2 separate regions of the Homo sapiens genome follow, and region 2 is linked to region 1. The links are contacts of gene promoters, found by promoter capture Hi-C in human tissues and cell types (Jung and others, 2019). All regions are on one chromosome and are shown on one strand. Each heading gives the region's core, a stretch centred on a gene start or on the middle of the fragment in contact. The rest is flanking DNA. Distances are from core to core; before and after follow the strand shown. Region 1 holds the start of PTHLH (parathyroid hormone like hormone). Region 2 overlaps CCDC91 (coiled-coil domain containing 91).

Region 1 (3,705 bases), core at 649-3,148:
GGGGCGATGCATGAGAACCTTCCTCCCTGGCCCATTCCCGGGATGAACTGAGTGGGGAGCATCGGCTAGAGAGAGGGAGATCTTTTGCTTAGAAGAACAAAAACAGTTCCAGATTTCATATCTAAATTGCACTTTTTGCTGTTTCAGAACTGCTGGGAGACATCTGGAGCCGGTCCCAAAAAACCCGCGCACAGGAGAGATCCCCCTTTTGAATTGCAGAGGGGGACCGACACTCCTGGAGCACGCACACGGCCCTTTTCACTCATGGTCGGGAGTCTAACCCATCCTTTCTCTGATACCCTACCTGCTTGTCCCCTCCCCCTCAAAAGTCCCAGGTTACAGATTCTTGGAAGACTGTATCCGAGTCGCTGCAGCCAGCGGACAGATGCAGTGGAACTATGGTTATGTGCTGCTCTGCCTGGGAGAAGCGACGGGAAAGCCGAGGTTCTTTCCAAAGCTAATGGGCGGGGAAGAAAGACTGCTCGGAATTACTGGGTAGTATCATCTAGGAAAGGATTGCAGCGGGAGTGGATACCCTCCCCAGGGCTCCTCTAACTTTTTGAAAAGAGCGCGAGTGGACTGGGAACCATTCAAGGGATATTTGTCTTCTAGGCAATCCTGCTGGTAGGGTTCATTAGTTTCTAGAAGGCTAGTGTGATTTAGATTCTTGAGATGATTCAAGGAATGTGGCCTTTATCAAGCCCGACTTTCCGGGTGATGCTCCACATATTTTACCCAGGGTGGGAGAAATAGCACGCTGTCACCGAGACCCTCGCTCATCGGGGCTCCCACTGGTTCACTGCAGCTAGCTAGCAGTTAAAGTTTACTGCTTAGGTTGGGTGGGGGGGCATATTTTCTTAGAAGCTCCTGCCTTCCTCAGTTCATTACTGTAAACCCCGTACCTTAAAAGACTCGGCTTCTTCTCACTAACAAAGAAAAAAAGCAAAACAAAACCAAAACACACACACGCACACACACACACTCTCTCTCTGGGAATTTCCACAACTTCCCTTGAATGTGTAAGGATTTCTAAATGTTAGACTTGTTTGGATAGTATGAAAGGACAAAGTATCAGCACTCAGAAATGTCAACCTTTGAACCTCGAACACTTTCTGATTTATAAAAAGAATCCTTCCAAAAAGATGCAGGAGCCCTAATGTAATCGTTAGATCTGAAGGGGGAAATCTGTAAAAAAAAAAAAAAAAAAAAAAAAAAAGTCAATCACAAATGAGCCATTTAATACTTGCAAGTTGTTTAACATTGAAATGATAATATTTGCTTCCACAATAAAAAGTCCAAGGTACCTAGCCAAGTTTCAAACTATCCAGGCTTTAAAAAGTCAACCCTTCTCCCAATAGAAGGTTAAAACAAAAATCAGATTGAAATTATCAAATCACTTATGTTGTAAATAAATTCACTTTACTTTCAGAACATTATAAATTAAGGACTGGCATCAATAGACTGCTTTGATTTATGTTGCTTTTTCTACTAATTAAACAAAATTAACCCCCCACTCCTTCCCTCCTTTCTTTTTCCCCACACACTTTTCTGGTGTTAATGGCAAAACATCTATCAAATATTTTTAGAATTTCCTCTCCTCCACAAAAAGAGAAAATATAGACACAGGAAAAATAAATAGTCTTTATATACTCGGAATACCAAAGTTCCCTCCTAATTTATTACTTCACCTTTTCCTTGATTTACAATCTTCTCTCTGCTCTTCTGGCTGAAAGAGGGAAATCTTCTCAGCAGTCTTTTCCAGAAATATTTTTTGTTGTTCTTCAGAAAACATAAAATTAAATCTTAAAATGAATTAAAAGCTTCTTGAAAGGAGACTTCTGTTCCCACTAAAGGCAATTATTAGAAAGCAGGTACCTCTTCCAAGCTGCCCTGTTTATTACTTTCCGTAGAAATTCTCCTCAATATATACCCAGGACCCTGACTTTTTGCCTGTTTTGGAAAGGATATTTTCTGACATCATAATCTAGTTCCTAACATAACTGAGTAATCTCCATCATAATAATGCAGAGGATGCATGACTGCAAATGAGACACAGCAAGAGCACCCCCTACCACCTCCCTCCCCCCCCCGTCCCCCCAGCCCACACACACACCTTTTTTCTAAGGTTTAGAAATAGAACAAGTGCCAATAGAAGCTAAATGTTTGCTTAGGCCTTGCTGTCATGTAAATGCACCTTAGCAAATGGGAAGGCCTGCCTCTAATCTGAAGTATTTCCATGTTTAGCATTATAAGATCTACACCTACACAAATGCCTAGCCCATGAGCACCAGGCTTCCATCTTCCCATCCCCAGTGGCAGTTTATTACAGTATATCAAATTTTAAAAGAGGTTGAAAAAATTTTAAATGCATTACTCTTAAATTCAGTTGAATACCCAGTTAATGTATATCTCCTGTCATAGCTTAGAAAAAAGTAAATAGCATTTATGCTTAGCCTCTTCATCCTTCTTTCTTCTTTCCTCCTTAACCCAAACAGCAAACAGATATACATTATAAACCAAATATGAATCTATAGCACTTTAAACAGTGCACCTGGGCTTGGGAATTCTCTTATTACCAATAAGCATCCAGATTTCACATTTACCAATCTGTAGCTGCAAGCTATGTCTCTAAAATCCCCTGGAACCAAACAACTAAACTCATCCCATCTCTTCTCCAAACTTTTTTCAATGTTTACAAAGAGACGTTGCATAATCAGCTCAAGTAATGCTCTCATTGGATTCCATTAGAATGTGGCTCTCATCGCTCGCCTGGACTGAGACTTGAGAGGAGGCTGTTGCCAGCTGACCTCAAGGTAGCAAAAAAGAAAAAAAGATGTAATGCCTTCAAACCCCAAGTAACAATAGGAAAGGGTGTGTTTCTTTATTAAATCTTTTTGTAGTTAGGTGAGGATAAGACTTCTCCAGGAACAGGGCGGGCTGCTAACCTCTGGAGGAACTGCCTCAGGGAGGAGTGTATAGATATGCATCAAGCTGATGGGATCCTCCCATGGGAAAAGTGGGCCTCACACCCTTCCTCACCCTTCCCTACTTCCTGGGCAATGTTCTGCTTCCCCCAAACTGAAGCAGGAGGCCCAGAGAGGAGGCGGTTTCCTGGGAGGAACCCAAACCAATGTGAGATGAGAAGGTCTTTAGGAAATGGGGGTCTCTGAGAACCGGTTCTTAAAGGTCAAGCACTTGAGCACCTCGCAAACTCCTGACAATTGAAACATATCTGAAGAGTCTTCTTCAGATATGTCTCTGTGTGTGTGTGTGTGTGTGTGTGTGTGTGTGTGTGAGAGAGAGAGAGAGAGAGAGAGAGAGAGAATATGAATGTGCAGTGTCCCAGTCCTGATCTCCTGGACTGGTGCCAGCCAGCCAGATGCCTGCCCTTGGCTGGCCAAGTTTTTGGCTCCTGAAAGTAGGCAGCTCTGGACTTGTACGAGGCCACAGAGAGAGTTCCAAGCCCCACCTGGCTCAGGCGACAACCTCTCAACCTGAAGTCAATCTCCGGTGGCATCACAGGGCCCTCCTGGCAGCAGCCCAGTTCCCCACATGAACCGAATGGTCCTTTCTTAAATTTTGAGCCGGGGGCTGCCTAAAAGGGGCTGCCCCCGCAAGCATTTTACCTCCCTAACACCATTCTCTGCCCGTGCCACGCTGGCCTCGAAGTCCCTTCCCAGGGCAGCACCCGGACTGAGATGTCTA
Region 2 (3,705 bases), core at 487-2,986, 340 kb after region 1:
CCACACTTACTGACCTCATCCTTGGAACTATGGTGCTGATTAAAAGGCATAGTACTGAATAATGAGATAACTTTGTGTTTCTTTGTCTCCACTGAATGACTTATTCTGGACCCTTTAGTGAGACATACATCTTTGAGAGTTCAGTTTTTCCATCTATAAATGGGAACAGTAACATATCAGAGAGACTACGTGAGACTTAACGTATATCACTTTGGGTTGTTTTTACATTAATGACCAATATAAATGCTATCTGGCATTATCATTGTTGTCTCACTGCGTTTACTATTAATAGTGATAATCTAGGAGTGATGACTTGAGTCTTCAAAGCTAGTTCCTTTTGTAGGAATCAGTACTTTCAAAGAAAACTTTTTTCAGATGACTTCATTTTAGGACCTATAGGCTTCTCTCTCCTTTTTATAGCATGGGAATAAAAGAGTAACTTACGGAGTGTTAAACACCTTGGCTAAATAAATTATAGAAAAATGTACCAGGAGGTCTCATAGCCAAATCGAAGTTAAAGTAGGCATACTGTTCAGTTTGTATGTCACCATACCATCTCTGAGGAAAGCATTTCTATCCTCAGTCCCTTCCATTCATTTGATGTGCCAATTCTTTGTTTTTTATTTGGTTATTGTATATTTCAGTTCTAAAATTTCCATTTGGTTCTCCTTCATATCTTCCATTCTGTGCTTAAACTTTCTATTCTGTTTGTTTCAAGCATGTTTCATAATTCCCTGCCGAAGCATTTTTATTATGGTTGCTTTAAAATCCTTGTTAGAAAAATGTCATCTCAGTGTTACTATTGATAGTATTTTCTTACCCAAGTTGAGATTTTTCTGATTCTTAGTATGATGAGTGCATTTTAATTTTATCCTGCATATTTTGGGTATTTTGTATGATACCTTGGATCTTATTTAAATCTTGTATTTTAGCAGGCCTCATCTGATACTGTATAGTTTGGGAAAAGATTAACCATTTTGTTAATGTCAGGTGCAAGTAAAATGACAAGTTTTCCACTCAGCCCCCTTTGACACCCTGGGTAGGAGGGATACTGCCTTACTCCTGAGATAAGGTGGGATTTCAGGGCTCCCACAGGCCTTAGCAGATACATCCCTGGCTGGGAGCAGGAGAGGCACCTTATTACTGTTCCACGGGTGCCTTACTGTGAGATTAGGTGAGATCTTCTTACCTCTGGATAGTTATAAAAGTTCTGGCTTCCCACTCAGCTTCCTCTGACACAGGAAAGGAGGGAGAGAGAGTCTTTTTCCTTTTGGATGGGGATAGAAGTCCTAAAACTGTCTTCACAACCACTTGGTTTTCTCTGATACCACATCGAGGTCATCTATGGGCACTGCATTGTTGCTGGGGCGAGAGTGGAAATCTAGGCTCAGTACTCGGCCTTTTGTGACAGAGGTGGTTTAAAAATAAAGGCGAAACTTGGAAATAAGGAAAAAGGTGAGCAGTGTGTCTTTTCAGTGTCCTATAGGGACATTGTTCAATAGGCCTACACTATGACTATTTAGAAGAAAGTATTTTGTTTGAGTCATTGTTTACTGTTGATTAAAAGTTTCAAAGTTAGGGCCATGCGTGTTTTTTTTTAAATTTTTTTTCCATGGTATTTGGTTGGTGTAGGATGTTTATTGTCTAAAAGTTTTCTGTCTTGCTAGATTGTGCCTTTCATGGATGGCCCTTTTGTTACAGAGGATTGACTTTTATTGGGGCTTTTGTGCCTGTTGGTGTTTCCTGGTTGCTGGCTATTCCACTCCCCAGTTTGGGATATATGAGGCTAAAAGAAAACTCACAGAACTCACTGCTTTGTCATTCCTTGGATTCCCAGGTCCCTAGTTAGTCTGCCTTCCCTCTGCATTCCAGAATCCTCTTAAATTTGTTTTAATAAAATGTCCAAACTTTTTAGCTCTATTTATTGATAGAAATAGGGAGAAGTGTGTCTTTTTAATTTTAATCTGGAAGTGGGATAGAAAGCAACCTTTTAAATTTTAGTTATTCTTTGTTGTAGCTACATCAGGAAATTGATATCAAAGTTAAAATACATTAATTTGAAACAGGTAACTTTGAGTCGGTTTTTTTTGGAGGTGGGGAAACAGGTTAATGAGCTCCCATGGAGTCATTCTAGATAGAGGAAGGATGCATAAAAATATATGGATAATTCGAAATGGGAGATAATACATAAATCTCTATATCTGCTTTATATTTACTAAGTTTGTGCATATTTATGTGTATGTGTTAGATATTCTGAAAGTGTATTTTCAACAAAAATATTTACATTGTACTGTAAATACCTGATTCAGGAAGAATTTAGAAATCTTAGGCTTCCGTATTTGACCTTTCTGCAATCCAGTTCTTTCTGAGGGTTATGGACTTCTTTCAAACTAACACAAAGTCGTTTCTACCTAATAATTTCTTAGGAATAAGAGATGTGATTAAATTTGTGAGTGTCAAAGGAGGCTACTGTATGTTAAATATGTATAGGATGAAATATTAGCAAAGTAAGTTTTTAAATAGTGATATGGTTTGGCTGTGTCCCCACTCAAATCTTATCTTGAATTGTAGTTTTCATAATTCCCACATGTTGTGGGAGGGACCTGGTGGCAGATAATTGAATCATGGGGATGTGTCTTTCTTGTGCTATTCTTGTGATAGTAAATGTCTCACGAGATCTGATGGTTTTATAAAGGGAAGTTTCCCTGTGCAAGTTCTCTTCTCTTGTCTGCTGCCATGTGAGACGTGCCTTTCACTTTCCGTCATGATTGTCAGGCCTCCTCAGCCAAGTGGAACTGTGAATCCATTAAACCTCTTTCTTTTATAAGTTGCCTAGTCTCGGGTATGTCTTTATCAGCAGTGTGAAAACGGACTAATACAAACAGTGAATATATATTAAATTTCTTGTTTGGATTTATGGTCTGCCAGTCATCCTTTAGATAATTGAATCTTATTTATGACATATTTTCTGTAGAATATGGCAATTTTTTAATATCAAGGTATCTAACATACAGGTCTTTTAAATGTCTGTGAAGCTTAATGAAATGAAAAGAGTTATTTATGATGACAGGAACAATATACTGGTGCCTGCATCTCTGTGGTATCCTAAATAAAGCAAAACATTTAGGAGTCCAGTAAGATATTGCTAGATTAAATTAGCTGAGAAGTTCTTTCTCCTTAAGAAATGTTAGTATGTGTATGTATTTATAAAAATAGTATGTGTAGTCTGGAAAATGTGGACAATATAGAAAAAGGAAAACAAAATTTATAGCTATTTCTCACCATGAAAATTCTAAATATTTTCACCTGATTTCAGAATACTGGGCTCTGAGTTTTCAGTTTTGGAAAATCTACTCCTCTACTTAGGCCAGGTTTTGGATGTATCTGTCAGAATTTTTGTCTGACAAGAGAAAGAGTAATTAATAAATGGAATGTTTGTAAAACCTTTAAACAAACTTTTAAAAAACAACATTAATGATTACAGATAATTCTAACAGTGTTATTTTATGTGATATGGTCTAATTACCAGGATAGGTGGAGAGGCGTGAATGTGCCATAACAAAAGGAAATAAATACTGTGAACTCTATAGTACAATGGGGGTGTGTGCTATGTCCCCTTTTCCTGTTCTGTCCAGGGTGTGTAGCCTAACCAGAGGAAGAAAAGTGAGTCATGCTGCATTTATCAGAAATAGCTATTTAAAGGAC

Evidence for each region. Contacts are between HindIII fragments. The study calls those that stand out against the background at their distance.
Region 2: a contact is called between a fragment that was not itself captured here and the fragment with the promoter of PTHLH in region 1, in 1 of the 25 tissues and cell types used here (IMR-90 fibroblasts).

Annotation. Positions count from the first base shown.
Region 1 is chr12:27,970,835-27,974,539 of GRCh38, forward strand. It overlaps PTHLH (parathyroid hormone like hormone), which reads right to left and starts at 1,899. Exons shown (of 6, transcript NM_198965.2): 1 at 1,689-1,899; 2 at 1,093-1,185. The HindIII fragment of the contact is 6,422 bases long and covers 22-3,705 here.
Region 2 is chr12:28,310,117-28,313,821 of GRCh38, forward strand. All of the region lies in intron 6 of CCDC91 (coiled-coil domain containing 91), which reads left to right. Among named protein-coding and RNA genes, the nearest start is that of CCDC91, 120 kb to the left of the region's middle. RefSeq lists an enhancer at 3,026-3,195. The HindIII fragment of the contact is 7,107 bases long and covers 1-3,705 here.